Regions from separate parts of the Homo sapiens genome. Here all the other regions are linked to region 1. The links are contacts of gene promoters, found by promoter capture Hi-C in blood cells and fetal thymus (Javierre and others, 2016). All regions are on one chromosome and are shown on one strand. The core of a region is centred on a gene start or on the middle of the fragment in contact, and the rest is flanking DNA. Distances in the headings are between cores, read along the strand shown.

Region 1 (8,000 bases), core at 3,469-5,968:
GACAACCCTCACTAGAGAACCACCCTCCAAGGAAGGTGCAGAGGGACTGCCTCGGGTCAGTGAGTGTTTAATCCTTCGGGGCTCCCGGCAGGATAGCCTCTGCTACCTCCCTGGCCTTGCTTCTGCCTCCATCAAACTTTCTCATGACTCTGCTCCATCAGCAACTCCTCCCACTGCTCTCCAAAAACATCCAGCACTTTTAAGCCTCGGTGCCTCTGCACATGCTGTTCTCCCGGCTAGGGCTGCCCTACCACCTGGAAAACTGTCACTGAAGGGCTCAACATGCTCCCACAGCAACTTTTGCCCACCTGTTATTGGCAATAATAGACTAATAATAGCAACGAACATCTGTGAGCACTTATTAATATCTAGAAAGCCCAAGCTGGGTTTTTAAGTTTTTTGGTTTTGTTTTTTTTTTTTTTTTTTTTTCGAAACAAGGTCTTACTCTGTTGCCCAGGCTAGAGTGCAGAGGTGCACGCAATCATGGCTCACAGGAGCCTCCACTTCCCCCGTTCAGGTGATTCTCCCACCTCAGCCTTCCAAGTAGCTGGGACTACAGGTGCACACCACCATGCCTGGCTAATTTTTTGTATTTTTTGTAGAGACGGGGTTTTGCCATATTGCCCAGGCTAGTCTCGAACTCCTGGAGTCAATCAGTCTGCCCACCTCTGCCTCCCAAATTGCTGGGATTACAGGCATGAGCCACCGCACCTGGTCCAAGCTAGGTTTTTTATCCACAGTGTCTCACTTCTCTCCTCACATCATCATCTTAGGGAGGTGGCTTATCTGCTTGAGAGGTAAGGCCTCTGTCCATCCTCACCCAGCTACAAGGTGGCAGCTTCAAGATTCAGACCTGGGTCAGCCTGAGCCATGTGGATCTGCTCGTCACTCTCTCTTCTTGCTGTTGCAGCCTTTATCCCACAGTGTCCTCATTATCTGTCTCCAGGCCTGCCTCTCCCCATAGAGGGAGAACTCTGAGAGCTGCCTCATTCATCTTGAAATCCCTTGCTAAGCACAAGGGCTGGGATGGAATAAACGTCTTTTGAATGAATCAATGAATCCTGGAAAATGGCAGTCAGCTGAGAAAGGCTAAGTGGCTGCTCACAGACTCCCCGGGGAAAAGCTGGTGCTAGACTCAAGTTCCCAGGAGTGAGCCCCCACCCCCGCCCCAGGAGACAGGCTGAGAGGCTTTCCCCGTCCTGATGGCTACAGGCAGAAGAGACAGGGTCGCACTCACTCCCCACCCTAGCACTGGAGGAGGTGGGACCTTTGAGAGTCCAACACAAAGGAGGAAATAGTAGTGATGGTGACAATGATCATTTCCTGCATTCCTACCCACACCAGATGCTGTACTGAGCACTTTTTTTTTTCTTTTTCTTTTTGAGATGGAGTCTCGCTCTGTCACCCAGGCTGGAGTGCAGTCATGTGATCTCGGCTCATTGCAACCTCCTGCTCCCGGGTTCAAGCAATTCTCGTGCCTCAGCCTCCCAAGTAGCTAGGACTACAGGCATGCGCCACCATGCTGCACTAATTTTTGTATTTTTAGTAGAGATGGGGTTTCACCATGTTGGCCAGCTGGTCTCGAACTCCTGACGTCTAGTGATCCTCCCGCCTTGGCCTCCCAAACTGCTGGGATTACAGGTGTGAGCCACTATGCTCCACCCTAGTACTGAGCACTTTCTATGTGTTAATGGTCTCATGGAATCCTTACAATCCCACAAAGTAGGCATTACTGTGATACCTATTTTACAAATGAGAAAACCAGACTCAGAGAGATTAAGTCATGTATACAGGGTCACAGAGCTTTTAGGTATAGATCCCTAATTAAAATTAGACCTCTCTGGCTCCCTCACTCTTCATACTCGTAGCTTTCTGTAAGAGGCAGGCTTGTCCGAGCCCTTCTTGAAGCCCAATTGCTAAGATGCACTCAGGACAGTGAAGGTTTTCCTGGTCTCTGCTGGAAGAGTGCCAGTTGGGACCTCCTGGTCAACAAATGTGACAAGAGTCCTGGGTGCAGGAGGGGTGGTGGCTAGGTTGGGAGAGGGGAGGGAAAGGTTGGGGGGATGGGGTCCCAAGAGTCCAAGCACAGCACCTGAATTCAGGTATGTGCCTTCTGCCTTCTCCTAAACCAGGTTGGCTGCAGCCTCTGTTGCTACACTTGGGGCATGGAGCTGGTTTTGAGAGGAGCTGAGCCCCAGTTTTCCCATCTGCAAAATGGGAATCAGTAATGCCTACTTCACGGGGTTGTGAGGATTCTGTGAGGCCATCACACATAGGCCTAGTTTCCAAAGGGCTCAAATGGGCTCTGCAGAAAGGAGAAAGGTTCTGGCTTTAAGGAAAAACCACCTGCCTACATCAGTATCCTCTTAGCCCTGTGGCTCAAGCTCCTGAAATGACTTAACAGCTAGATTAGAATTTAACCTCCACTCCGTCAATTACCAGGGAGAGCAAAGTCTGAGTGGGCACAGGGCCTTGCCTACCGTGTCTTTCTAGGCCATGGATGATCTGGAGAGCACAGATGGCACGGGGCCCTTGACACATGAACCACAGAGCCACTAATGAGTGTCACGGTGGTAGGAGACCAAAAGAGGGGAAAGAAGACATTACAGAGGCTGGGAAGAGCTGGAGCCAGGAAGGTTCCAGGACAGGGGAACACTGTTAGGTAGACCCCAGTAGACAAGTAGGCACAGAGTTGACAGTCCAGGGTGGCCTGGTTGACATCTTGCCCCCAGCATCCTGGGGACTCAGCCAGGAAGATGGGATTTGGGTGACAGGTGGGAGAGAAGGGCATGGGAGATTTGTGTGGGAAGGGCCGTGTGAGCAGGCAGCCGGCTGGAAGGATTTGCTGGCCCCCACCGGCCTCCTGCAAGCTGGCTTTTTATGACAGAGCTGGGGGAGGAAGATGTGGAAACTCCCCCAGCCCCTGCAGAACCACCCACCAGGGCTCCACTTCTGCACCTGTCTAAGAGAGACACGCCCCACTCAAAGCCAATCCCGAGGGCGGCCAGTATTGGCCAAGGAGTGTTCATCCTCCCGCTCTGCTGCACCCAGCCTCTCCCTCATCTCCCCACAGCCTGGCGGCTGTTAGCCCCGTATCTTAGAGGCAGTTGAGACTCCAGAAGCCAAGTACCTTGCCCACGAGTAGACAGCTAGTCGCTGGCTGGGCTAAGAAGCTTTATTACCAGCCTTGGAGGAGGCCTCCTAGATGGACGGTTTTTCTCCGGTGCTTCACCAGCCGCAGGAAATGGCAGGGTACACAGGGAAGTACCCCTGCGGACTGAGGCCGCCATCGGCAGGCCCTTTCCAGGGAGAGCCCTGCGGGAAAGGGCGCCTGTACCTCCGGGCCCCGGGTCCTCCACAGAGGGTGATTCAGAGGCGGCACCTGGTGTCCAGAGCCGCGGAGAGCTGGGGGGCTCTTCTGACAGTGAAAACAGGGGCCCTTTATGTGAAATGCAATCACATGGGCGCGCAGGCAGCTCGGTTTTCGGTTCCTAGAAGCGCTGATGAAGCCACATCCCTCTCCCTCCGCTCCTGAGGTGCCCGGGAGCACCGGGACCCAGGCCTGGCGCGCGGCAGCGGCGCAGCCCTGGGGTCTCAGGAGGGCCAGATTCAAAGCTCTCCCAGGCTCAATTATCCTCCAAGGGCTGGGAGCTGCATCATCAGCATCTCCAGTGAAGCTGGAGGCCGGGCCGGGGTGGGGGAGCGGAGGAAGGGAGTCTACATGGGGGAAGGAGGAGGGCAGCGAGCGCCTGCCTCCCGGCTCTCCACCCGGGGCGGTCTGGGCAGCTCAGCCTGGGCACTCCGGGTGACCTTGGGGAGACCCCTCTGGGCGACCTCTCAGGGGCGGCTGCACGTCTCCGCCCATCCTCGGCGCCCGGGGGCGCTCCTCTGGGCCGGAATCGATGAGCCGGAGTCGCCCAGAGGGGAGCGCTCCTGGCGCGGGGGACCCAGCCGCCGGCGCACGGGGCCCTGGGAGAGGCCGGGCGCGCCCCTCCCGGGGAACTACCACTCGCGGGGTCTCCCCGGGCTGGCTGGTGCTGTCAGCCGGATCCTGAGGCGGGGCGGGTCTGCAGGTGGAGGCGCCTGCCTTGGGGATCTTTCCCGCCCGGGCAGGAGCGCTCTCTGCGCCCTGCCGCTGCCCGCCAGGACCAAGCCCCGCCACGCGAGGGGGCGGCACCACCATGCCCGGCCGGGAGAGTGCGCGGGGGGGGGTTGTTTGGTGTCCGCTGTGGCTCCCGCCGCCCGGCATTGCACCCCCGGCAGACGGCGGCCCCATGAGTCCAGAACAGACCGAGGACCCCACCTCCCCGCCCCAAGATCGGTCTACGACGGCCGCAGCCAACAACCTGCCAATGCGCCCCCTCCCCTGGCCTCGTCAAGGAATTGCGAGGCCGGGGAGAACGCCCCCATTCCAGCCCGACTCCCGGACCTAGCGCTCTCGGTACCCGTCTTTCCAGAGTCCCCACACTCCCATTTATCTCAAGCTATCGTCCCTTGGCCAAAGCGCCCCGGCCCCCAGCTAGGTGATAGCAGGCTGGGACCACCTCCCCGCCCCATCCTCATCCCCCGCCCTGCGAAGCCGCAGAGCGCAAGGAGGGTGGTGGCGCCGCCGGGGAACTCACCCGCTCTCCCGAGCCCTGCCCCGGGCGGCTCCCGACCCCGGCTGTGTCTGTGGGTCCCCGAGCCGCAGCTGCTCCAGCGGCGACAGAGCTGGCTCTGCTCGGCCGCGAGCCTCCGCGCCGCCTCTCGGCTCCTCCCCCAAGGCGGGGCCTGAGCTCCTGGGACTGGGGTGGGCGCGCTCAACCCCATCCGGCTTGGGAGGCAGCGCGGGACAGGGTCCCGGCGCTCTCGGGTGGGGACCCCTCTTCTGAGCTGCAGGAAGTTGAAACCGGTTGGGACGTGGCCAGGCTTCGGAATAGTTTTCCTAACGCTGCCCCCTCCTCCAAAATAGTTTTCCTAACCCCCACCCCGACCATGGAAAGAGGGAAGCCAAGGACGGTATCCCTGCTCCCATTTGACAGACGGGAATCCTGAAGCCCAGAGAGGAGTGGTAACCTGCTCAAGGTCACACAGAATGAATGCCAGGGCCAGGAACTCAGGGTTCCTAGCTTGAAGGCCTGCGCGGCCTGAGTCTGAAGGCTTCCCAGGAGGTCCAGGGGCCGGCCCTGGCCTTGCGCTGGGGACAGATCTGTGGGGCCAGGTCCCCCAGCTGCTGGGGCCGAGACATGGGGGCTGTGGCCTGCGGTGTGGACTCGCATCATTTCCTCTTTCTGGAAAGAAGGGAGGTGAAGCGCTGGAGGAAGGAAGTGGTCGTACCTCTGCTGACGTCTGACGCCCTTTGAGATGTGCAGGATGAAGATAGGGGCTGCTTCCCTGAGATTTAACGCTAAAAATAAAAAGCAAAACATACCCGGTGGCTTCTGTCACCTCATTCAAGCCTCTTTCTGGGGCTGAAGGCCTCTGCACTCTGTGCACCAGCCTTTCTTTACAACACAATGGGTTTAACTATTTAAGTTGCTGAGAGTCACCCCCCACCATCACCACCCCAGGAAGAGAAAAGAAAGTTCATAAACAAAGCAGAGAAAACCTCCCCAAACATTCTCTGGAATCCACATTTGCTGAACCCTGGCCTTAGAACAATAGGTTTCTCTTCTCCACAAAGGCCTTGTTTCCTGAGCTTTCCCGGCCTACAGATGAGAGCCCTAGGCACCCCAGGGCCAGCCAGCTGGGGAAATTCAGAGTTTAAGTTTGGGGAGTTTGGGGATGGTACCCAGTTAATTTGATTCTCAGCTGTCATGTTTGAGGAACTCGCCCGAATCCTTTTTTTTTCACTGGCAATATTCTTTTGAGGCCACCAGCATCACCTGAGTTTAGTGATTTTCTGTTTGCTCAGTCACCTTTCTTGGGGGAGAGAAAATCTGTGGGTTGAACTTGTTCCAGGCCCCCAGGCCCTCTCCAGGAACTCTGTAAGCCCCCTTCATTGGCTCCCTGGCTCCCTCTCAGTTCATTAATAATCCAGTTGTGAATGACACTGTTTCAGGAAAAGCAATTAGACAGTAGAGCATGTGGGGAAGACTTAAAGCCATGTTTAAAATAACCCAAGGGAATCATTGTTCTCCGAAGAATGTTTCCATTGATTGATAATGAAGAGCCATGGGCTGAGAGGATGGGAACCCATCTCTCCAAGGCTTGTGTGGCACTTGGGGCCTGTGTTCCTAAAATAAGGCCTTTGGAGGGAGGGGGCTCCCAACTCCAATGTCATGCTGTTCATTCACCTCTCACACTGTGTTCGGTATCAAAAGTTAAAGTAAATTCAGAATAAGTTGGGGGACTCACAAGTCCTGATTTCAAAACTTACTAGGAAACTTCAGTCATCAAGGCAGGGTGGTACGGGTATAAGGATGGGCATACAGACCAATGGAATAAAACTGAGAGTCCAGACAGAAGCCCTTACACTTACTGCCAATTGATTTTCAACAAGAGTGCCAAGACAATTTAATGGGGAAAGAATAGTGTTTTCAAAAAATGGTGCTGGGACAACTGGATATCCACATGCAAAAGAATGAATTTGGATCCCTGCTTCATACTATATGCAACATATAGATCTAAATGTAAGAGCTAAAACTATAAAACTCTCTGAAGAAAACATAAGCCTAAATCTTCATGACTTTGGATTAAACAGTAGTTGCTTAGATATTAGCACAAGCAACAAAAGAAAAAAAAATAGATAAATTAAAAACTTTTGTGCTTTCAGGGGTATCATCAAGAAAGTGAAAAGTTATGGCTGGGCCTGGTGGCTCACACCTATAATCCCAGCATTTTGGGAGGTGGAGATAGGAGGATTACTTGAGGCCAGGAGCTCAAGACCAGCCAGGGCAACATAGTGAAACTCTGTCTCTACAAATTCTTTTAAAATTAGGCAGACGTAGTGGTTCATGATTGTAGTCCTAGCTATTTAAGAGGATTGCTTTTGCCTAGGAGTTCAAGGCTGCAGTGAGCTATGATGGTGCTACTGTACTCCCGCCTGGGTGACAGAGCAAGACCCTGTCTCTAAAAAAAAAAAAAAAAAAAAATTAAACATAAAAAGAACAAAAAGAGAGTGAAAAAATAACTGTTATAAGCTGAATTGTGTGCCCCCTCACCCCCATTCATATGCTGAACTGTACTGGTTACAGTCTCAGAACCTCAGAATGTAACTGTGGATGGAGATAAGGTCTTTAAAGAGGTGATCATCTTAAACTGAGGCCCTTGGATGGGGCCCTCATCCAATGACTGGTGTCCTCATAAGAAGAGACACTAGAGATGCGCCACACAGAGGAAAGACCAGAGGAAGGCACAGGGAGAAGAAGGTTAATTACAAACCAAGGAGAGAGGACTCAGGGCTGGGGGACCAGACCTGCCAACACCTTGATCTCAGAATTGTAGCCTTCAGAATTGTGAGGAATAAATTTCTGGGGGTTTGTTTTGTTTTGTTTTTTTGACATAGAGTTTCACTCTGCTGCCCAGGGTGGAGTGCAGTGGCACGATCTTGGCTTACTGCAACCTCCACCTCCCAGGTTCAAGCGATTCTCCTGCCTCAGCCTCCTGAGAAGCTGGGATTACAGGTGCATGCCCCCACGCTCGGCTAATTTTTGTATTTTTAGTAGAGTAAGGGTTTCACCATGTTGGCCAGGCTGGTCTCAAACTCCTGACCTCAAGTGATCCACCCACCTCGGCCTCCCAAAGTGCTGGGATTACAGGTGTGAGCCACCGCACCCAGCCAATTTCTGTTGTTTAAGCCACCCAGTCTATAGTATTATGTTATGGCAGCCTTGGCAAAATAATACAATATCCCACAGAACGGGAGGAAATATTTGCAAATCATATTCCTGGTAAGGGACTTATATCTAGAATATATAAGGAACTCTTACAACTCTATAATAAAGAGACAAATAATAAAAAATGGGCAAGGAGCCTGGGCAACATGGCAAAACCCTGACTCTACTAAAAATACAAAAAGT
Region 2 (8,000 bases), core at 1,584-4,083, 230 kb before region 1:
AACACAGAAAGCTGCCATCTCTGGGCCTACAGGGCACCACCGCCTCCATGCTTTCCAGCGCCAGCTTCTCTCTGCCCTCTCACTTGCTCCAAAGGGAAGACACAGCAATGCTGTGGGGAATTTTACTAGCAGTATCTGAAGACCTGTGTGGAGCCCGAGGGGACTAATTCTGTGGAAGTACTGGGGGACAGTCTGTGAGGTACTAGGCCCTGCTGTCACATCTGTGGGCTGACAATGGGAACAGGGACACAGACCTGCAACAGACAAAGTCAAAAGCTCTCATCTCTCTCGCCCAGGCCGGGCCCCACTCCCTGGTGAGTTGTGTGGTCCCAGCCTTAACCAACCCTACTGTAAAGGGGCCTCCCCATGGGCCCAGGATTTTGTAGTTGCTTCGGACAGCAAGGACCTGTCCCACCCATCACAGACTGTGACATAACACAGGACACAACACTGGGGGGTGTCGCCTGGGGAGGGCTGCCTTCTGAGAGGTGGAGGGACAGAGGGGAAGCATGTGCTCAGGATCAGGCGCCCAGGGGTAGAGGCAGCATGCAGGGACGGGCTTGCCTCTGGGTGCTCCCTCCAGATTGTCCGGGCTCCCAGTGGACTCTGGTCTCCAACCCGAGGGTGTGAAACCTGTACCTTTCCCCTTCCACCGCCATATAAGCTTTTTAGGATCAGCCCCAGTCCTAAAGCCAAACTTGAAAAATAATGTTTCTGACCTCTCTACAGGAAGATCCCAACTGGAAACTGGCAAGAATTAGCACCTCTTTGGGACTTCTTTTAAATGTCCCACAGTTTACTCTAATCAGGTCTTGAGGTCATTCAGTCACATCATCTTGCTTTAGGGGGCTTCCTGTGTCCCTGAGATCCCAAAGCTGCTGTATGCCACAGCATTAAGTTTCTTAGCTAATGTCAGGCCCTCACTTCGAACAATTCATTAGAACATCTTAACATACAGACACGAAAACCAGGTGTGGGAGGGAAGACATTTACTTTAGGTATAAAGGTTTACTATTATTAACAAGTTATCACTATTATTTACATGTTTATAAAATGGAAATAAAAATGACATACACGTTTGGTGCCAAAAGTGGCACATCCAAACTAATATCAGTATAAAAATAAATTTTCAAGCTATGTGTTTTTAAAATAAAGGTCATTGAAACAGTAAGGGGGAAAAAATCTGCATCTGGCATGTGTTGAAATGCAATCATCATCACAGCAAAGCAGCCCTGGGGCAACAAAACCAGTGCCTGCTGGAAGAACTGTCCCCACGCGCTCTTGCAAGAACCCAAGCAAACAAACAAAAAAACAAATACACCAGTGATGTTCCTGAGCTACAGAAGTTTAGGGCATCCAAACTGTTGTGAATTCCTGCTAAAGAGGAGGCCCTGTGGGATCTGAGCTGATGAACTCTCCTGAGTGCTCAGCTAGCGTGGCACCAGGACCTGGCACTACACTCTGAGAGGACGCTAAGCCTACCTGTGAAACACAAATCCTCTGCTAACACAAAACAGCGCACGAGTCCTCTCTGTCAATCACCAATCCCTTGCAAGTCTCCTGGCTGCAGATAAACAGGGACAAGGGCTGAGGACAGACAGAAGCCACTGGGTTTGGGAGACCCTGTGCCCATCAGACATGCCCTTTGGTGGTTTCGGCAGAGATCCCCAATGTTTCGTTCATTCGTAGAGACATGCTTGTTCACACCTGGCAGCAGACCTCATTGGTTAACACAGCTGTGGCCCCAGCAGGGAAAGCAAAGCCAGCCCAGCAAACCCTCTGTCCACCCCACATGGTGTTTTGGCCTTCAGTGGCTAACTTTCCTCCTTGTTTCCCATAGAGCTGGGCCAGGACTGCATGCCTGCTGGAAGTGGCATGCTGGGTTAGTGAGCGTGCTGAGTGAGCCAACTCCCACTCTGCCCGCTGCAGCACAGAAGGATGCCTGCCCATGCACAAAGTCCTCCAGGATCCCAGCAAGGATGCAAATGCTGTGGGCAGCGGGAAGAAAGGACTAATGAACAGGCCGCAGCCCACTTCAGAGCAACCAAACATTCCACAGGAGCTGGTGCCAGCTCACCCCACCTGGGACCAGGGGCAGCAGCATGGAGGAGAGGACGCCAGCAGTCCCTGCAGCTGTAGCTGTGGGCTCCTCTCACGGGTCCTGGACCTTGGCCCTTTTGGCTTTCAGAGACAGGTGCTGCAACAGAAGAGAAGACACTACAGTTGGGGTTGATTAGACAAAGAAACCAGACTGCAACATAATCCCCATATGAATGACCACATCAAATCTTCCATCTGGTCCACACCTTCCCAGTAAATGCTGAGCTGTTCATGAAACAGCCTGGAAGGAAAAAGCCCAAGTGGCCAATGAAGAAGCCGACCTGAATTCAGCCGCCAGCAACCCGAGGCCCAAGCCACAGCGGCTGAAGCTGGTTATACAGGGCTCTGCGGAAGCTGTCAAGGAAAGGTTTTCTTTTTGAGACACGACTCTCCCTCTGCCCCAGCCTAGAGGACAGCACCGCAGCCAGACAACTGTGCTCAGGAGACTGGGCTCAGTCTGGAAGTGATCTCAAATCTCCAAGAAGTTCCTGACAATAGTCAAGAAAAATTATCCTCTCTTTAGGACCAAGGAAGTCAATTTACCAAGCGTCTCAACACACCAGGTACCCATGCTCAAGGATGGAGATAAAGATATGGCCTCTGCCCACATGGAGGGTACAAGCTTGCTGGGAAAACAGAAAGGACACCTCCTAGTGACACTTTTTTTTTTCCCCAGAAATGTCACTTTCTACCATTATGAATAACACGAAGCACAATATTCTAATCATAGGCATCAGATAATAGGATTGGAAAATGAAGTATTTTTTACATTCTAAAGCAAAGCCAAAAGTGGCAGAAATCCTTAAATATGCCTTTGAGGCAGAGTGTGTAAATACAAGCTTTTAATGAAAGACCTCCCTCCACTCATCAACTGGGATATACCCGACAGCCCATTACTAATCATCAATAACCAAGAGATCCCTAAGCCGTGCCAACTAACACACAGTGGGAGCCTCACATGAGAATGCCCACCCTGACTGCTCCGGAGCTGGTGTGCCCACTACTTAGCACAGCCACATGGCCCCACAACATCAAGCCGCATCGCCCCCAGAGAGAACTGCAGGCCCTGAAAAAATGGAGGGCGTGAACGAAGACACAGCGCACCACCAGGTATGACGTGAGAGACAACAGAGCGAACAGGACCCGGGTATAAATGAGCTACAAGAACTCAGACTTTCCATCTGCTTACACCTGAGGGAGGACTACTACAGGCTCTTGCAAAGGCCTCGTTAAAAGGGTTTTCCCTAATAATGAAGATATCTCTGAGAATAAGGAAAAATAATTTAAAAGCCAGAAGGCAAATCTCTGAATAGGTCACCCCGTTCTTCCCCTGTCTAGCTGTAGGTCTTGCTGAATTTCTCTGAATTCTCTCTCTACACGTCACCTGATATAACCCCTACAGCTAATGTTAGATATCCACGGCCTTAGCTTGGGGATGGGAGATGACGCCATTGTGCCTGTGGGGCCATTTTTGGTGCTTTTTTCTGGGAAGAATGTTGAATATAAACAAAGCTGACTCTGAACCATTTCAGGCCTCCACACAGGGTGAGAGCAACATTCCGAAAAACAGTGGTGATGGAAAGTCTCCAAAGGTGCCAGGAACAGAGCCGTGAATGATCTGTGGGCTGTGGAAGGTTGTGAGGTGCTGCACTGTGTTCAGTAAAGGAACATCTACCATACATGGGCAACCCCTGTAGATCTGGAGGTTCTTTGAGAAATCAATCTGCTTTGGACAAGTTAATAGTAGAAGTGCCCTTGGACTATACAGTTAAGAAACAACACAAGTTTCTCTGTGGTTTGGGGACCATCGTTATACAATGAGGTTGTTGTATTAGGTGATTTCTTTTTTTTTTTTTTTTTTTTTTTTTTGGGGGGACAGTCTTGCTCTGTCGCCTAGGCTGGAGTGCAGTGGTGTGATCTCGGCTCACTGCAGCCTCCACCTCCTAGGTTCAAGTGATTCTCCTGCCTCAGCCTCCCAAGTAGCTGGGATTACAGGCACATGCCACCATGCCCGGCTAATTTTTGTATTTTTAGTAGAGACGGGGTTTCACCATGTTGGCCAGGCTGGTCTCGAACTCCTGTCCTCATGTGTTCCACCCACCTCAGCCTCCCAAAGTGCTGGGATTACAGGCGTGAGCCACCGTGCTCGGCCGCACTAGGTGATTTCTAAAGGTCTGTCCCAGCCTCTCTAAAAATACTCCGATGACAGTGGAGGTGATGAGCTTAAAAATAAAAAAGCCATTTGGAGAGAAGAGACAAATGAAGAAATTTGGGCTTGTTATTTTCTTCAAATTTCTGAAGCTATTTGCTCTTTAACTTTGTGGGTTTGACCTAAAGAAACTGGAATTTTGAGCTGAGAAGGGAAAATGACTCAGCTTCTGGGCTAATTCTGTTTCCAAGAGTCTAAATGAATCCAAGACAATTTCAGGCTTATCCTTCTCTGGCTGTCTGCATCTTCTTACTTTAACAGGCATTTTGACCACTGCACCATTCCTCTTTCAACCTCTAGTTTACCTTTCTGATCCCTTCTCTTGACTCCTGAAGTCTGCTGCTTTCCACCTGAGAGGTTTTGAAGGAAAAGCCTTTCTTTCACCAGGTTTATTCTTATCAACCTAATTCAGCAAAGACAACACACACTGCATTTTTATCAGTCCCTGCAGGCTGATCTGCTTTCCAGCTGAAATATCTGAATTGGGATGTGTGAAGAACTATAAAGGTGTGAAATGGTTTTTGTTTGATTACATAAAAATTAAATATTATAAAATTTTGAGAGGGCAATGTCCCTTGACTTTGCTGGAGCAGGAGAGATGAGGAGATCCTTCCATTTACAGGGTCACAAATTCAAATGTCTCCAAGAGTGCAGCAGGCAAGTAAGCAAGTGACATGGGACTACGGCACCTGGCGATGTCACTAACAGCAGGCAGCCACCCCTAAGCCCCTGTGATGCCACCACGTAGGAACGCAAGCCTAGTGTTGCCAGACTAAACATGTCTTTCAAGAGAAACCAGAAATTCATGTTTAATATGAAATCTCCCAATTTTTCAATGTGGCAATCAATTCAAATATCGCTTTGGAAACATTGTGTAGTCCAATTCTGGCCCTAATGGAGAAAAAGGTTTCAGACTTTCTCTTCTGCTGTAAACAACAGTAAACTTGGGCAAAATATGTAAAGCAAGTATTTTCAGGCCACAAACAGCACAGGGCTGTAACCCTTTTAAAAAAGGAGCTGGGCGTGGTGGCTCACACCTGTAATCCCAACACTTTGGGAGACCAAGGCGGGCGGATCACCAGAGGTCAGGAGTTCAAGACCAGCCTGGCCAATATGGCAAAACCCTGTCTCTACTAAAAATACAAAAATTAGCCGGGCATGGTGGCGCACGCCTGTAATCCCAGCTATTAGAGAGGCTGAGGCAGGAGTATCACTTGAACCTGGGAAGCAGAGGTTGCAGTGAGCTGAGATTGTGCCACTGCATTCCAGCCAGGATGACAGGGCAAGACTCTGTCCCAAAAATAAATAAATAAAAATAAAAAACGAACTGGTGGCATGGTGGCTCACACCTGTAATCCCAGCAATTTGGGAGACCAAGGCAGGAGCACCACTTGAGCCCAGTTATTCGAGACTAGCCTGGGCAACATAGTGAAACCCCATCCCTAAAAAAATTTTTTTTAATTAGCTCAGGCCAGGCCTGCTGGCTCATACCTGTAATCCCAGCACTTTGGGAGGCTGAGGTGGGTGGATCACTTGAGGCCAGGAGTTTGTAACCAGCCTGGCCAACATGGTGAAACCGTTGTCTCTATTAAAAATACAAAAAAAAAAAAAAGAAAAAAGAAAAAGAAAAAAATGAGCCAGACGTGGTGGCACACACCTGTAATCCCAGCTACATGGGGGCTAAGGCAGGAGAATTGCTTGAATCCGGGAAACGGAGCTTGCAGTGAGCCATGATCGTGCCACTGCACTCCAGCCTGGGCGGCAGAGTGAGACTGTCTCAAAAAAAAAAAAAAAAATAGTTTGGAAGAGCAAAAGGAGAAAGAAAGCGAGAAAGCGATACCTTTTTTTTCTTATGAGATTAGGGGGATTTATTTTTAATTGCACTTCACTATGAATTAAACGCTAGAGTGCTTTCCCAGAATGTTTTGGGGATATGGTAATGGCCTTTCCACCCTATGCACCCCTAGGGGGAACACACATAGGGCATTAAATTGGAGAAAAAAAGTACATTTAAAAACATGGAGAGGCTGTGAACAGGTGGCTGGGGCACAGACTCAGTTCATTCCTACCGTTCCTTGTTGATAAAAGTGTGGAGCCAGCTCCAACAGCCAGGCCGATTCAATGGCAGTCACATCTCTCATGTAGTACTTGGAGGTCTGTATAACTTCGTTATAGATGACCCTGAAATGAGAAAGAAACATGAGCTAATTTCCCCCTCTTGTGATGACAGTCAGGAACCACAGGTAGACATGCTGTTTCCTTTAACCTTTAACAGGTTCTACTCTATGTGCCAGACACTGTGCTAAACACATGCATTTATGTTGCTCACCACAGCCTCAAGACCTAAGTGCTGGGTAATGGTGTGTCCATTTTTCAGATGAGACTCTAAATCCTCAATGACTTCTGGAACATCTCAGTTATCCGCGAAGGACCTTTCTGGATCCTTCATCTGCATTTACAGAACTCTGAACTGAGCCTAATGACTTTATTAGAAAATGCAGAAATGGAGGCAAAGACTTGCCTGATTCTGAAAGAGGCTGGGAACTGACTGTAAAGAGACACAAAGGAATTTTCTAAAATGATAACAATATTGTATAATTTATGTGGGTCCAGGTTACATGGGTATACACATTTGTCAAAACTCATCTTGCACTGTAAATAAATTATACCTTTATTTAAGGGAAAAAATGTTTCTAAGGCTCAGGTAATAGACAACCGAAGAGCCAAGAGCATAACATCCAGTCCCCTGATTTTAGGTGTGCATATGAGTAGATATCAGTTTCTGAAACATCCAAAGTGTTAATTCAGGGCTTCCCATGTTATAAACATACCAGCCATACTGTGGTTCCCCACCCCTCAAAAACCAGTAAGTGAATCTCAGCTGATCAAAGGAAAAAGAAGGGCCCCCCCTGCAAAGAGGCCGTGACTGGGGGGCACTTTCTTTGCCACCTGAATGGTATGGCATGGCTTCAGGCTGGCTCTATTTCCCCAACCTTTCTTTGCCCTTCAGAGCTCCTTAGGAATGAAGCAAGAAAAAGAAAAGCCTTTCTCCTTTAAGCAACTCCCAAATTTAACCACCCAAAAGTCAGCAAAAAAAGGATCTAAAATTGAGGTTTTGCATCTCTCTTGATTTAAAAAAAAAAATTTTTTAAAGGCAGGGTCTCGCTCTGTCACCCAGGCTAGAGTGCAGTGGTGCAATCATGGCTCACTGAAGCCTGAATCTCCTGGGCTCAAGCGATCCTCCTGTCTCAGTCTCCTGAGTAGCTAGTACTACAGCCACGTGCCACCATGCCTGGCTCATTTTTTTTTTGAGAGTTGAGGTCTGGCTATGGCACCCAGGCTGGTATTGAACTCCTGACCTCAAGCAATCCTCTGGCCTCAGCCTCTCAAAAGTGCTGAGATGACAGGCGTGGGCACTCTTCAAATTATCCTGCACACGAGTGTGCGTATCCTGACCACATTAGTGTGGTCACTGGGTAACATTTCTAAACCCAGAACCGACCAAGGTGCTTTCAACCTAAGCAACTTCTAGGTCTGCAGTGGCTACAGGATAAATCCGATTCCTTGGTCTAGGGAAACAGAACTCAAACTTTACTGCCCAAAAGAAACATCTGGAGGGCTTGTTAAAATGGAGTCCTAGGCCCTAGTCCAGTTTCTGATTGAATGGGACTTGGCATGGCCTGAGAAGCTG
Region 3 (8,000 bases), core at 1,518-4,017, 160 kb after region 1:
CCTGGAGGAAGGGAAGCACCGCGCCCCAGGTGCCCTCCTGTCGCCTCGGCCCTTCTCCACCTGTCTGGGGTCGGGGGCACTCACCGCCTCGAGGCCGTCCCCCGCCTTGTCCCTGTCTGCGTGCATCCTCCGCAGCCAAGTCTTGAGGCCTGCGTCGCAGAGCTGGGGGCGCCTGCTGCTACTGTCGTTCAGTTTTCGCACCTGGGCGACCAGGAAAGAGGCGACCTGGCCAGAAAGGATCAAGTTTTGGCAGGGGGATAGGACTTCTGGGGGCGAGAGGCAGAGCCCTCTCCAGGGTCATCGTGGCCTCTTCCCTGGCCCAGCGTCCCACAGGGCTTGGAAATATGCATTTGTTGGACACGGGACGGAAGCACTGGTTTGGTGGAATGAGGAGGGGGCATTCAGCCCCTAAAGTGGACCTTGGAGTAGGGGACCCTGAGAGTGGAGCCCACCCTGAGGCTTAGTGGATAGTGGTCCCCTCGACAGAAGCTGGAGGGTCCTGCACCTGCTGAGGGATAGCTGCTCACTGGCACACTCAGGCAGGGGTGTCCCCAAAACACACCTGGAGCAGGCTCTGCTCTGAGAACCCCCAGAGAGCCCACACTGGGGGATTCCTACAGAGACCTCCAGATCAACCCATGCCTCTCTGTGGGATCCGAACCCAGCAGAGTCAGAGAACCCAGACTCCATGGACCCTGCTAATAACATGTTTCTGTCTCCCAGGGTCTGACGAAACTGGAGTCGATTCTGAATTCCCCTTTTTGCTGCTATGTGTGTGCTGTCTAAAGGTGACACACACGGGGAAGAGCGAGGGTGATGGGGGTTCTCCCCTTTCACTTTTTCTACATCTATGTTTTCTGAAGCTTTTCTAACAAGAAAACATTCAAGAATTTCTTGAATTTTTAAAGCATCCTCCAATAAAAAGAAGTATTACAATCCAATGTCTTTCAGTAGCAACATTATCTCAAAGGGCTGAGTGCAGAGAAGAAAGGAACTATGGGGGTATAAGGGGTGTATGAGGGAGGAGTAGGGGACTTTCGACAGAGGAGTTGACTTTTGAACTAGGAGGTCTTGAAGAATGAGCAGAGGACACCAGGCTTCTGCCCTTAGAAAAAAAAAAAAGGGAAGGGAATTCCAGGCAGAGTAAACTGCATAAGCAAAAATTCAGAAGTGTGAAGTACTAGATGAGTTTGGAGTGCCAGCTGGCGTTTGCTGTGTTTAGAACACAGACGAGTGCCCAGGCAGGGTAGGAAGAAAAGTGGGAACAGTCAGAGAGGGCTTCACTTGCTGGTTTCTGGAATAGGAAATCTAACCTAATGACCATGGAAGAAGGAAGGGATAGAGGGAAGGACTGTGGGTGGATGGATGGGTAGATAGTGGGATAGATGCATGGTTTGGTAGATGAGTGGATGGATGGATGGGTAGATAGTTGGATAGATGTGTGGTTTAGTTGGATAGATGCATGGTTGAGTGGATGGGTGAATGAGTGGGTGGATGGATGGATTGGTAGATGAGTGGAGAGATGCATGATTGGTGGATGGGTGAGTGGATGATAGATTGGCATATGGGTGGATGGGGGAGTTGGAGGAATTAATGGATTGATGGGTGGGTAAGTAGATGGGTGGGGGGGATAGGTGGGTGGGTGAGTGGGTGGGTGACGGGCAGTTGCATAAATGGATGGGTGGGTGGATGGATGGATGGGTAGGTGGGTGAGTGGGTGGATGGATGGGAGACTGAATGGAAGGATGAATGAACAGATGGAGGGAAGAGGCTACGCATCGCTAGGTGAGAAAGCAGCCTGGTCAGCAGTGGTAGATGGTGCTGCCTTGTGTTCACAGGAGTCTCAAGAGCTGGAGGGGTCTCAGTGCTAGGGGCACCATGCATGCTGACACCGCAGAGGGGCCTCTCTCCTGCTCTGGCTCCTCCCCTTGCTGTCACTTGTTACTCAGGGCAAAGCTCACGGTGGGGGCAGGAGGGCAGGGGTATCCCTGTTATCTGGTTCTGGGCTCTGTCTTAGGCAGGCCCTGTGATCCTGGGCCTCAGGGATGGGGCTTTCTCAGCAGCATAAAAGCTTTGATGTGAAGGAATTATTTGCAGGAGTTGGGGGAACTCCTGCAATCTGGGGTAGACCAGATGGCAGCAGACTGACTGAGAGGCATGGCAGTGGAGACAGAAAGTGAAGACACTTCTTCTTGGTTACTAAGGCAGGGGGAGGAAGAAAACACAGGCCTGTGCAGAGGCCAACAAAGGTCCTGGAAGGGACACACTAGGGAACTGAAAGGACAATGCCCAGGCTCCTGGAGAGCAGGGGCGGCACGGCAGCTGCACCCAGAGGGATACCCAGCGCCCAGCAGCACTCACCGTCCACAGCAGATCCTGGTAGTGCACCATTATCTGCACCACCTCGGCTGCCCCTTCTGCCAGCTGCTTCTCCTTGCCTTTGGGGAGCTTGGGGGGCCGCCCTTGGTGCAGAAAGAGGTTAGGGGCCATCACGGTGGAAACATTCCTCAGAGTCATCTTGTTGTGCTGTTCCCGGGCCACCACCTTCCTGAGGAATTCCAGCAGTGCCTAGGGAAGGGTGCAGAGCCTCCCTCAAATCTCAGCCCATCCCTGGCGCCTCCCCACCATCCCCAGGGCATTCTGATGAATGATAAGGGGGTGCTAGGAAGGAGCCAGGAGCTGGGAGGGCAGCAAGAGGGGCTCCCGTTCCAGCTGTGTCACCGGCCCACTCCATGACCTCTCTGTGTCTCCGTTTCCTGCTCTGCAGTGTGTCCAAGACTCTTTCCCTCCCCTGCTCCCTCAGAGACTAATGAGACAACTGGGTCAGACTTCAACTTCCAGGTAGAAAAGGGCCACAGGTCTGGAACATGGGTCATTTCCTGGTGAGGCCCAGGATAGCTCCTTCTTTCTGGAGTCTGGGTCTACCCAAAATGCAAAGGAAGGAATAGAGAAGCAGAGATGCTGGGAGAAGCAGAGACACTGAGAAGAGCAGCAGAAAGTGATGAGAGCTACCACTTACTATGTATTCTTTGTGTTCCTGGGCCTTTAATTGGTACATCTCATTTAATCCTCACAGAAACTTTATAAGGTAGGTTTTTTTTGTTTGTTTTTTGTTTTTTTTTTTTTGAGTCAGAGTCTCACTCTGTCTCCCAGGCTGGAATGCAGTGGTGTGATCTTGGCTCAGCTCACTGCAACCTCTGCCTCCCAGGTTCAAGTGACCCTCCCACCTCAGCCTCCCAAGTAGCTGGGATTACAAGTGTGCACCATCACACCCAGCTAATTTTTTTATTTGTAGTACAGACGGGGTTTCACCATATTGGCCAGGCTGATCTCGAACTCCTGACTTCAAGTGATCCTCCCGTCTTGGCCTCCCAAAGTGCAGGGATTACAGGAATGAGCCACTGTGCCTGGCCAAGGTAGCTCTTATTATTGCATGTGTTTTACAGATAAGGAAACAAGCTTGGAGAATGTGCCAAGAGTCATATAGCCAGTAAGGACAAAGGGACGGAGTGAAGAAGGGAGGGAGGGATGGATGGATGGAAGGATGGATGGATGGATGAATGGAGAAAGAAAAGATTAATAGATGGACGAATGAGAATAAATGGGTGGTGGAAGGAAGAATAAATGGAAGGGAGGTGGGAGGGAAGGAGGGAGGGAGGGAGGAAGAAAGGAAGGGAGAGAGGGAGGGAGAGAGGATAGGAAAAGAGGACACATATTGAGTACCCTGCAAAGCATCATCTTCTACCCCATGATTCCTCATGAGTTAGCTTTTATGATTTCCAAAACAATTAGACAAGATGCTATTAATGCTATTATCATCCTCAGTTTACTGAAAAGGAAGCAGAAACTCAAACAGGAAGACCCGGGGCCTCCTCAGGCTGATCCTGGAGGCACATCTTGAGTCTGACTGAAGGACAGTCAAGACGGTACAGGGAGCTGGGCCAAGGCCCTGCATCCATTCCCATACGACAAGGAGAATTTGCTAAGGGTCTGTTTCCCAAACTGGTTCTGCATGGAACACCAGTGCCATGCAATGCTTTCCACAACAAAAGAGGTCTGTGATCAACTGAGTTTGGAGAGTGCTGCATACTCTAATCCCACTTGGAGATTCTCTAAAGCCTCAATATACCAAAGGCTTTGAGAAGTCCTGGGGAGAAAAGTATTCTTAACCTTGTTTCATGAACTCTGTGTTTACCCATCCATGCTTGGCCACAAGGTGCTAACACCTGTTAGCACCACGTGGAACTGACGCTCTGCAGTGCCCACTCCGGGACTATCCCCTTTCAGGACTCATCTACTTTCTTTAAGAAAAAGTCTCAAGAGAGGTTTGTGTGGGTCATCACTGAACCCTAGCACCTGGCAGAGTTGTTGAATGAATGAATGAATGAATGAGCACATTTGAAGCCATGGCTGTGGCTGTGGGCTGAGATGGCAGAGTGGTGGTGGTGCATGGTAACTCTTACCTTTAAGGCATTTCTGTTGGGTTCTGGGAGGATGAGGATGAGCAGGTGAAGAACCTGCAGGCGCTGCTTCAGGTTGGGGATGTCTGCGGGAAGGGAGGGACCTCAGTCTCCATGGGAGGCTCAGGGACTCCCTCCCTCAGTCTGGTCTCTTCTTGGGGAAATTCCAGAGCTGGAAAGCCAGGGGACAGCCAGGAATCCCTTTTTTCATAAGGTGTGGGACTATTTCCTTGTCTAATGTTGGCTCAGACAGAGCCCTGACCAGTGCTCGTGGGAGGTTCACTCGCTATACTTTGTGTAACAAAATAAACACACGCATGCATGTGCAGGCAAGCACATGCCGCACAGACCTAGATGCAGTCCAGGCTGCAGCCCAGGGTCAGAAATGCAATGAACCAGCAAATCACCCTTAGGAAGGGAGACAGAGAGCTCAATGGGCCCAGATAGAAGGTTTTCATGAAACCCTCTGTGTTGTGAGGGTTGAAAAGGAAAAGCTGTCTCACACCTGGTGTCAGGATCTCCGGGGAGAGGAGGTAGGTAGGAGGAGGTAGTAGTTATAGATTCAAAGAAGGAGTTCATCAGAGCCAGACAAGACCCAGCAGCTGAGAGCTGGCTGGAACCTGGAGAAGAGCTGCGTAGGAGACAGAGGCTGAGCACCCTGGGCGCCAGGCCTGCGACCCCATATGACCTACCTACCTACCTTCCTTCCTTCCTCCCTCCCTCCCTCCCTCCTTCCCTTCTTTCCTTCTCTCACTTATCAACAAATATCTATCAAGTACCTGTCAGGTGCTGTGCTCAGTCTAGGAATCTTGGACACAATAGTAAAGGAGGAAAACAAAGTCACAGGCTCATGGAGCTTACATTTCAGAGAGGAGACATAATACACAAGCAAAGAATAAATCAGAGTATGATGGGCATCATTGCATCATTATAGAGGCTGGCAGGCAGCATGATGTGTGGGGTCACGGAAGGCCCCTCGCAGGCAATGACAGCCAGCTGGAACTTGAATGGCAGAAAGCAGCCAAATGAGGGTGGAGGGAGGTTCCATTCAGACACAGCAGCAAGTGCAGAGGCCCCAGGGAAGGAAAGAGGAGGGGGAACAGCAAAGCGAGAGAGCCTGGCCAGACAGTGGGGAAGGAGGGGCCCAGGAGGAAAGGGGGCCAGAAATAGGCAGGACCTGAGCCGGAGGAGGTGGGCCTAGTAAGAAGTGGAATCTTATTACAAGAGTGCTGTGGAGGGTGGGCAACAGCATAGGGAAGGAATCTGATTTATGTTTTGCAATGAGGTTGAGGCCAAGCCTGATGGTTCATGCCTGTAACCTCATCACTTTGGGAGGCCAAAGTGGGAGGATCGCTTGAGGCCAGGAGTTTGACACTAGCCTGGGCGACATAGCGAGACCCCCGTCACTACAAAAAAATGTTAAACAAGTATGCCAGGCGTGGTCTCATGTGCCTATATTCTTAGCTACTTGGGAGGCTGAGGCAGGAGAATCACTTGAACCCAAGAGTTCAAGGCTGCAGTGAGCTAGGATCATGCCACTGCACTCCAGCCTGGGTGACAGAGCAAGACCCCATCTCTAAAAAAAAAAAAAAAGAAAGAAAGAAGAAAGAAGAAAGAAGAAAAGAAGAAAAGAAGAAAGAAGAAGAAAGAAGAAAGAAGAGGAAGAAGAAAGAAGAAGAAAGAAGAGGAAGAAGAGGAAGAAGAGGAGGAAGAAGAAGAAGAACAACAACAACAACCAAAACGCTGCGGTCGTGAGAATCAAAGGTCAGAGAGGACCTCTCAGGATCCCTGTCCCTAGCTTGGGGGTAGAAATCAGACTGCCTGAGCCTTGGAGCTTTTTGGAGAATTCAGAGAGACAGGGAGAACCTCACGGTTGTGAGTGAGATCTCAGGAGAGCTGCTGTATTTTTTTGAGAAAAATAGAAGTGACTATCTTTGTTCATTGTGGATTGTGAAGAAGTCCAGACAGGAACATATATATGCAGACTATACATACAGCAAGGTCCGTGCAACACATGCTGATCTGCAGATGTGCACACAGATGGACATGCACACACATGTGTGCCCACAGATACACAGGTAATGATGCTGATAAGCTCAACCCCATGGATGTCAAGATGTGAAGGAAACTAGTCCACTCATCCATGTGAGAACTAATAGGGACTGTAGTGTGCAAAACCTTAGCCTCCTCTCCTCACACACCTGCACACATGCCATACAACACACGCAGGACACGCGTGCACATGTGTATGTGCACACATTGGGCTCACATGTTCACACTTGCTTCTTCCCCCATCAGTTGGACATTTCTGGAACAGACATTTCCAGGAACACGGAGTCCTGCCTTTGCATGGCTTCCCCTCTCCACCAAGGCCAGTGAGCCAACTCTCCATCCCTGCACAGGCTAAGGGCTTGGGCACACTCACTAGGCACCACGGCGAAGGCCGGGAGGTACTCAGCCGTGAGCAAAGGTGTCGGCAGCTTCCGGATGAACCTTTTGAGCAAATCAGAGGCGTCATTGTGATGAACCTCGTCCCAGCTAAAAAGGCCAGCATAGAAGTCTCTCTCCAGTTTCTGTTCCAGCCCCTACAGGAAGGCGGGGCATGAAAACACAGTTGGCCCAGGGCTCTGGTAGAAGTCGCTCTACCACTTCTCTGGGGCTTGGTTTCCTCATCTGCAAAGTGGGGACAACAAGAGCACCTCCCTCGTGGGGTTGAAGTAAGGACGAAATGGTCTAACGTGCGTGTCACTGAGCACAGAGCTCTGCTCATTAAACGTTGGTGGCCTGACTCCAGGGCCCACACTCTCTGCCACCATGCTCATCATGCCACCTTCAGCCTCTCAAACCCTCGACCCACACAGAGACCAAAGACAGATCACTGGCGAGTCAGGGACTGGTTTCCCTCCCGGCTTAACACACATGTGAGCATGGGGGAGATGCAGCCTCAGTGAAGCCAGGAAGCCAAACCATTACCTTGACCCTGGCCTGGGATCCGGGCACCCTGAGAATGCCTTCCATGTCCAGTCCTCTCTTTTCCAAACAGGACAGCAGCTGTCAGAAAGAGAAACCAGCATTTAAACCAGGAACCGCTGAAAAGCAGGATTCAAAATGGTGTGTTTGTCTCCCATGAAAATCAGAAAGAGGGGAGTACCAGGAGAAGGGTTTCCTTCGGAATAATATTAGTTTTTGTGACCACTTCCATGAGCCCAGCATTCTGAGAGCTTCATACACATTTTTCTCATTTAATCATTGATAAGAGGAGGATACTGTTATCATCATCCCAATTTACAGATGTTGAAAGGGAGGCTAATGAAAGTTCAAAAATCTACCCTTGACTTTAAGATTCAGAAGTTAAAAAGAAAAGAAAAGAAAATCCACCCCAAGGATCACTTGAGGCCAGGAGTTCGAGACCAGCTTGGGCAACATAGTGAGACCCTGTCTCTACAAAAAAAATTAAGACAAAAATTTACTTATTTATTTATTTACTTATGTATTTTTTGAGAGAGTCTCTCTCTGTTGCCCATGCTGGGGTGCAGTGGC
Region 4 (8,000 bases), core at 3,594-6,093, 140 kb before region 1:
GCCCGGCTAATTTTTTGTATTTTTTTAGTAGAGACGGGGTTTCACCGTGTTAGCCAGGATGGTCTCGATCTCCTGACCTCGTGATCCGCCCGCCTCGGCCTCCCAAAGTGCTGGGATTACAGGCGTGAGCCACCGCGCCCGGCTCTTGCTCTTATTTCTAATTGTTGGCCACACTTTCAGAGAATAATGGTTTTGAGTCCTGCTCCACAAAAAGAGCACTCTGTGGTAGGTAGTTTGTGGTAAGCCATATACCTGCCCTGCTCTGAGAAATTCACTGTGATCATTACTTCAGAGTTCTGAGTAGTCCTGCATTAAAGAACTTTGTTTACATTTCTTTGGCCCAGTTTCTCACACTAAACACAGAACCTTTGTTATGTCATCCTATTAACAGTTCCATAGAACATTCAGTTAAAATTTCAAACTAAATTAAAATACATTATCACAGGCTGAATGCAGTAGCTCATGCCTGTAATCCCGGCACTTTGAGGGGCTGAGGCAAGAGGATCACTTGAGCCCAGGAGTTTAAGAGCAGCCTAGGCACCATAGTGAGACCCTGCCTTTACAAAAAAATAGTGAGCTGTGATTGTGCCACTGCACTCCAGCCTGAGCAATAGAACGAGACTGCTTCAAAAACAAACAAAAAGAAGTATCACAGATTAGGACTTTGTACTTACTTTTTTTTGTTGTACTTTGCTTTTTTTGCTGTTTTGTTTTTGTTTTGTTTTTTTTGAGACAGAGTTTGGCTCTTGTTGCCCAGGCTGGAGTGCAATAGCGTGATCTCGGCTCACCACAACCTCCGCCTCCCAGGTTCAAGCAATTCTCCTGCCTCAGCCTCCCGAGTAGCTAGGATTAGGGGCATGCACCACCACACCCAGCTAATTTTGTATTTTTAATAGAGACAGGGTTTCTCCATGTTGAGGCTGGTCTCAAACTGCTGACCTCAGGTGATCCGCCCACCTCAGCCTCCCAAAGTGCTGGGATTACAGGCGTGAACCACCGCGCCCAGCCTGTACTTAACGTTTGTTAATGAGGCTGTTTTAGTTTTCCATTCACCATTGCAGTAACTGCCATTTCTCAAGGTACACTCTCTCCTGCTTCCATACTCCGTGTAGAGAAATAGTCATGTAACAGAGTACTGCACTTAGAATCTAGAAACCTGTGTTTAAATTCTTGCATCACCATTTACAAGCCATGTCATCTTGAATATGCTACTTAATCAGTGCCTCAGTTTCATCTGAAAATTGGAAATAACAGCTACCTAACCTGCATAGCTCTCTGCTACATTGCTGCAAAGATCAAAGATGGCATATATGAAGTGACTTAAGTCTGTAAGATGATTTCAAATAACAATATGTTTACTCGAGGCTTAGCTCAGAGTTGTTTCTAAGCAGACATGGATCAATTTCCTTCCTTTCCTTTTCTTTATAGCCACAGATTACAGCACTAACCCAGCAAATAGCCTGACCATCATAAGGAAGTCCTGGCACACGCGTGAGTGTAGGGACACTCATGATACAAGTGCATCAGCATTTTATGTGGCAGACACCTTCCCCTGTTATAGATCTTTTTTGCTGTAGCTAAGTCAGGAGAGGGAGGAAGGCATCATTTAACTCTCTTCCCTTTTGTCTGTCCATGAGAATGAGACAAAAACAGGATTCCACAGCCATACCAATCCTGATTAGAAGGATGTAGAAACCATTACACTGCCTGCCACTGGACCAGGAAACTGGGATAATTGTCAGTGTCCTCTTTTGCCCCTACTCTGGGATATTAGATGGCTAAATCACTGTCAATACACCCAGCTGATGAAATGAGGCCCATGGGGCCACCAGAGTTAATATTGGGAATGAATATAGGAACATACACTAACGCCTCCTTTGGTAGACAAGCAGAGTACCAGAGTACCAAGGACCTACTGAAATAGCTCAGGCTTTTTCTTCGAAAAGAGAAAAGGCAGAGCATGTGCAAAGGCCTGCTATTTCTGGCCAGTTTCCTCACTTAAACTATAGAGTAACATCAATATTCATGATGCTGAGGAAGGTTAAGTGGATCTATTTTCTCTTCTATAGTTTGGATCATCTACTTCTTCCTCACCCTGACACTATTTAAAAAACCTTCAGATATAGATATCTATATACCTATATCTATTAGGTGCATTAATTTGTGACATACTCCCAGATTTAAAGAGAAAAGTGTCAGAGGGGGGGAAAAAGTACAGAAGCACAAGTTTATATTTATTTAATGCTAAGAACACAGATATTCTAAAGAGATAAACAGAAAGTAGTTTTATTTTTTCTAAATAGGATTTTGATCACAAAAATGCTGGTGATTCAAACCTTTAAAACAGAAGAGCATACAACCTAAGAAAAATGCAAAACAGGCTACAAACCTGTACATCATGTTACTGCACTGAATACTGTAGGCAACTGTAACATAATGGTATTTGTATCTAAACACAGAAAAGGTATAGTAAAAATACAGTATTATAATCTTATGAGACTGCCAACATATACGTGGTCTGTCATTGACCAAAACATCATTATGTAGTGCATGACTATTAAAATTGTGCAAAACAAACCCCTGTATCCATAGTGTTTAAACCATAAAACCAATACCTGGTATATACATGACAAAACAAAGCATGTAAAATAATATGCAGCCTAAAGAATTCAAAGACAACAAAGGTGACAAAGTCAGGTAAAAGAAAGGCAATTAGGGACATAAGATATTTTTTAAAGCAGGAAGCTGATGATGTCCACTGTAAGCCTGGAAGAAACCAGGAGTCTGAACACGGAGCAGTTACTGATAGGAAGGATAAAGTGCTACATCTCTAACAGCAAGCAAATTAACTCTGCTGAAATTGCCAGAATGAAGGCCAAGGTGGTTTTCAGTAAAGAGTGTTCTCCTTGACAGCATAGCCAGCATGTGGTTGAGCCGGGACCTGATACCAGCGAAGTGGAATTGCCGCTCTTTGTTCAAGTTTCTAAGTGAGTCACTCAAGTACAGTTCCAGGTGGGGGGTGCCCAGGTACTTGGGATAGCCAGGATTGTGGAAGTCAGTGGTTCTGATGGAAGCGGGAGAACCAGTGGAGCTTGCCACAGAGCCTTGGGAAGACACAGAGGAGGAAGACTTCAAACTGGAAGATCTCGATACAGACATTTTTGAGACTGGTGACCCTTCTGTAGATTGAGTTCCTCGAGGAAAGAGAATGTTCTCATCCATGTCAGTCTGAGTAGTGGTCGATCTGGACCAAATCGTGGTTTGAGAGCTTGCTATCCTGGTGATGACTGCAGTCTGGGTACCAGCACATGCTGTGGTGATGCTGGTTTGTGTTCCCACCTCACTCACACTCAGCCCTGGCATCTCCTCTCCTGGCTCTGTTTGAGTGGCAGCGTCAATGGCCTTTCTGCTCTGGAGCTCGTCCCTGTGGCTGCTGAAGTAGTCTTCCTCACTAACAGTAGAGGACTCACAGTCATGGGGCTTGCGCTCTGCCTTGCCCTCTGCGGGCATCTCTGGGTCCAGGTCCGCCTTCCTGGGAGTACTTGACAGCCTAGCCAGCCGCATCCGCAGCAGGTTGCCCAGGGTGAGCTCCTTGGACTGTGGTTTTCGGTTGGTGAGGTGATCAAACTTGTTGCTGCTCTGGAAGTGAGACAGGAGTTTGGGGCTGATGGGCTTGGACTGGGCATACAGGATTCGGAACTCCAGATCAAAGTGTTCAACCACTTGGCCAGACAGAATTACCAAGTTACTGCTGTTTAATTTGCCATCCGTCCATGTAAAACTTAAAGATTAAAAAGAAACAAACAGCAGCTGGTAAGGATGAGCAATTTTGTTTTACTCACTGTCCATCTGAATAATATAGTACAGGTATCTTACCACATAAGGGTCACAAATTTGGTGATATCATACCTACCATTTGCATGTATTTAACTAGCCTTAACACATATATAACATTTATGTGTGTTACCATAAAAGTAAAAAGGCCAACTGTTTAACAAACACACTAAATGCTCAGCCTCAGAGGGTTTTTTTGTTTGTTTGTTTGTTTTGAGACGGGGTCTTGCTATGTTGCTCAGGCTGGTCTTGAACTCCTCGGCTCAGGCAGTCCTCCCACCTCATCCTTCCAAAGTGCTAGGATTACAGGTGTGAGCCACCTCACCTGGTCCTTGCCTCAGAGTTTTTAAAAACTGGAAAGGGGGCCAGGCGCGGTGGCTCATGACTGTAATCCCAGCACTTTGAGAGGATGAAGTGGGCAGATCCTTTGAGGTCAGGAGTTCAAGACCAACCTGGCCAACATGGTGAAACCCTGTCTCCAGTAAAAACACATAAAAAATTAGCCAGGCGTGGTGGTGCATGACTGTAATCCTAGCTACTCGGGAGGCTGAGGTGGGAGGATTGTTTGAACCCCGGAGGCAGAGGTTGCGGTAAGCTGAGGTCACACCACTGCACATTCCATGACTGGGCGAGATTCCATGACTGGGCGAGACTCCATCTCAAAAAATTAATTAAAAATAAAAAATAGGGCTTCTAAATATTTAGGCCAGCATCCCCATTTTAAAGGTAAGAAAACTATTTAGGCCAGCACCCCCATCTTAAAGGTAAGGAAACCAGATAAAGGGATTATCACAGAGGGGAGCTACTGCTGGACTCCAGATCAGACCCTAGGCCCTATGAATTGCTAATGCCCTGCTCCTTGCTACTGTTTGAGTGGCAACATCAGTGGCCTTCCTGCCCTCAAGCTTGTCCTTGTGGCTGCTGAAGTAGTCTTCCTCACTAACAGTGGAGGACCCACAGTCATGGGGCTGTGCTGCCATTTTCACAAAACACCATGGCTCAAAACATTTTAGAGCTGATTAGTGGCCATGTGCCCTTGCCTGTACGGTGTCCCTTCCCCGCCTCCCTCCTCTGCTAGCAGAACTCACACCCACCTGTACCCCAGAAAGCTTTCATTATCATACTCTCTCCAACCACAATAGGGGCAGGCATGTGGTCCACACTGGCCAGAGTATCCTATTCCCTTGGATGCAGGGATTCATTCAGGGTGGGCATGTGATCCCACCAGAGCCAAGTAAGTTTTCAGAGATTTCTTTTTTCTTTATCAAATGGATTCTGACAGAAGGGATTGATAGTAATTCTGAGTGAAAGAGTTTCACCCTTTGGGAGACAGCTACTAAAGGCCATATAAGAAAGCCAGGATCTGGCTGGGCACGGTGGCTCATGCCTATCATCCCAGCACTTTGGGAGGCCAAGGTGGCCGGATCACAAGGTCAGGAGATTGAGACCATCCCGGCTAACATAGTGAAACCCCATCTCTACTAAAAATACAAAAAAAAGTTAGCTGGGCGTGGTGGCGGGCGCCTGTAGTCCCAGCTACTCGGGAGGCTGAGGCAGGAGAATGACGTAAACGCAGGAGGCGGAACTTGGCAGTGAGCCGAGATCGTCCACTGCATTCCGGCCTGGGCAAGACTCTTTGTCTCAAAAACAAAAAATAAACAAAGCCAGGATCGTTGACTTCAAAGGGAGAGCCTGCCTAAGAACAAAAGTCAACTCGAAAACATCAGAACCAGGATATAGTGTTCTGATCAGCGTGTGGCTCCTACGTCAAGATGAACTGAAAACCAACTGTACCTTTCTATGCTTCCTTCCGGGTTCTTCGAGTCAGTACGTTTGAGAGTTAGCTGACACTTGCCATCACCCCACTAATGGTGGTATTTGTACCAGAAGTAGGTTTCAAACAGAGATCATAGAACACAGTCAACTCTGTCTCCTGTAACCAAGATATGGCTAATGCAAAGTCCCCCTGAAAACTGCCTTCAAAGCCTGAGAAGGAAGATTCTTTTGAAAGCCTTCAATGAGGCTGGGCCGGGCGCAGTGGCTCACACCTGTAACCCCAGCACTTTGGTAGGCCGAGGCCAGCGGATCACCTGAGGTCAGGAGTCTGAGACCATCCTGGCCAACGTGGCGAAACACCATCTCTACTAAAAATACAAAAATTAGCCAGTCATGGTGGCATGCCTGTAGTCCCAGCTACTCGGGAGGCTGAGGCACAGGAATCGCTTGAATCTGAGAGGCAGAAGTTGAAATGAGCTAAGATGGCGCCACTGCACTCCAGCCTGAGCAACAGAGCAAGACTCCATCACGAAAAAAAAAAAAAAGAAAGCCTTCAATGAGATAATGTAAATAAAGCACCTATCCAACACCAAGATTATAAAACCTCCTCAACAAATGGAAGCTATCATCGTCATCAATTTCATTTGGAGAGGGTAGTTTTTATATTTTAGAACAGCAAAAGTCCATTTGTAGCTAAGTTTGGTTAATATAGATAAATCCTACTTAGGTTAAAAACAAATTTTTTTAATAAACTTCTTACAAAAGGAAATTCCAAGAAAAAGAGTTCAATTTGTTTTTTCCCACAGCCTCTTTGGTGAAGAAAGTTCAAATTTTGTTCTGAGCAATGAGGGTACTGTTGAAAAAGAAAGGTGTCAAGATTTTCTTGATCTTACTGCCTCATTTTCCACAAGCCTTCACATTTCTACCTTTACCCAGGGCTGACACGTAATTATCACTCAGGGTTGTGTGTTTCTTCAAAAATGGGGTTTTCTTTTTAAAATTCTACAGACACACCTCATGCAAACCATCAGACAATCTACCGCAGAGGCGGCAGAACATACAACCATTGGAGCCACATATGTACAAATGGCACAAATTCTAGAGATTCATGTAAACCGCTCATTATCCCCACCCTCTCTTCAACCTTCCTGCTCTCTACCTTAAGATGCCATTGCCAATGTGACACTTCAAAGGTGGGTCAGAAACATAATCAGTATTTTCTAGACTAAAGCTCTAAATTACAAGGCTTGAAGCAACGTGGAGGATTTGAGTCTAAAGCTGACAGCTCTGGCTCTGCCTTCAACACTAATGGAGATGCCTGCAACTGCCCCTACCTTCAAGTGAGCAGGGCAAGCTGGGTCCAGATCCCTAAGGAACCAGGATTCCAGACTGTGTGTTGCTGTTAACCCCCAGTTCGTCCCCTGCAGACCTGGGCCAAGGCTTGAAATCTAGGACTTGCTGACTGTGTTGTCTCAATACAAGTTCAACTTCTGCATTTTAATCTATGGACTACAGGACAGGGGAAGTGACCCCCACCCAAACTGCCTCTAACAGGAGGCTTTGATAACCAGCTGCTATACACAGATGCACGCATATCAGAATGCATGGCCATACAGGCTCCCATTGAGAGGAAAAGGCTTTTACCTTTACATGACATGCTTCTTCTGAAGAGTTTAGATTAATAAGCCTTGGACGGGTTAGAGACTTACCTGTAGGAGCCTGTTGCCACGCGGATGCCATCAATCAACGTGAACTTTTCGTGAACCTTCCCAATAATCTTAGTTCCTGACCTTGCATAGTAGATATTTCCTGTGATAGTCCGAACTGTCATTAACTGTTGGCAGGGAGTGGGAGAAATATAAATGAACAATTCAGCAATACTCATCTGCTGAGCAAATGGTTAGGACAAAAAGCCTTAGTTTACAATTCCCAGATATAATTATTGGCATATGCGTGGCTTAGGGTCACCATTTAGTGACAGTATACATGGTACACTAGCCAGACAGTTCTCAAGCCTCAAGTGATGTTACTTCTACATTTGGTCCATCTTCTCATCTGTTCTTTTCTTATATTTACTTTTGAGACCCTTAGTTCATGCGTGTATGTGTTCTAAAAGAACACTCAACCTTTTTGGGATACTAAACAACAGAATCCAAGAAATGATTCTGAAGCAAAATGTGTGGGATAAAATCATCAAAGAAAACATGCTAGTAATAAAGAACATTTTAGCAAAGTCTGAAAGAAGGTAAGCTGATCTTCCTCCAACTTGTTTGTTTAATGGCATCACATTAGAGTAACAGTCCATCCTCACTCACCCTCAACACCATAATGGGTATGGAGAATAGGAACACAGGACAGGCCTTCTCTAGTACAGGCCTGCTGAGGCAGAA

Evidence for each region. The method cuts DNA at HindIII sites, captures the fragments that hold promoters and counts their contacts. A CHiCAGO score of 5 or more calls a contact.
Region 2: a contact is called between a fragment that was not itself captured here and the fragment with the promoter of PPP1R16B in region 1, in 1 of 17 cell types (total CD4 T cells). The highest score is 5.1, in total CD4 T cells.
Region 3: a contact is called between a fragment that was not itself captured here and the fragment with the promoter of PPP1R16B in region 1, in 3 of 17 cell types (total CD8 T cells, total CD4 T cells and naive CD4 T cells). The highest score is 6.6, in total CD8 T cells.
Region 4: a fragment that was not itself captured here is called in contact with the fragment with the promoter of PPP1R16B in region 1 in 3 of 17 cell types (total CD4 T cells, activated CD4 T cells and total CD8 T cells); the score reaches 6.7 in total CD4 T cells.

What each region holds. Positions count from the first base shown.
Region 1 is chr20:38,802,415-38,810,414 of GRCh38, reverse strand. PPP1R16B (protein phosphatase 1 regulatory subunit 16B) reads right to left here and starts at 4,718. Exons shown (of 11, transcript NM_015568.4): 1 at 4,623-4,718. RefSeq lists enhancers at 1,523-1,572, 3,262-4,100, 5,129-5,398, 4,681-5,542, 5,543-6,405 and 1 more and silencers at 3,669-4,018, 4,079-4,298, 4,489-4,868. The HindIII fragment of the contact is 16,329 bases long and covers 3,176-8,000 here.
Region 2 is chr20:39,032,696-39,040,695 of GRCh38, reverse strand. It overlaps DHX35 (DEAH-box helicase 35), which reads right to left. Exons shown (of 22, transcript NM_021931.4): 21 at 6,379-6,490; 22 at 975-2,197. The coding sequence ends at 2,153. Among named protein-coding and RNA genes, the nearest start is that of DHX35, 74 kb to the right of the region's middle. The HindIII fragment of the contact is 217 bases long and covers 2,725-2,941 here.
Region 3 is chr20:38,638,272-38,646,271 of GRCh38, reverse strand. It overlaps ARHGAP40 (Rho GTPase activating protein 40), which reads right to left. Exons shown (of 15, transcript NM_001164431.3): 8 at 7,434-7,511; 9 at 6,886-7,045; 10 at 4,464-4,546; 11 at 2,362-2,568; 12 at 85-225. Among named protein-coding and RNA genes, the nearest start is that of ARHGAP40, 40 kb to the right of the region's middle. RefSeq lists a silencer at 1-55. The HindIII fragment of the contact is 1,388 bases long and covers 2,074-3,461 here.
Region 4 is chr20:38,947,320-38,955,319 of GRCh38, reverse strand. FAM83D (family with sequence similarity 83 member D) reads right to left here. Exons shown (of 4, transcript NM_030919.3): 3 at 7,320-7,444; 4 at 2,214-3,781. The coding sequence ends at 2,800. Among named protein-coding and RNA genes, the nearest start is that of DHX35, 11 kb to the left of the region's middle. The HindIII fragment of the contact is 204 bases long and covers 4,742-4,945 here.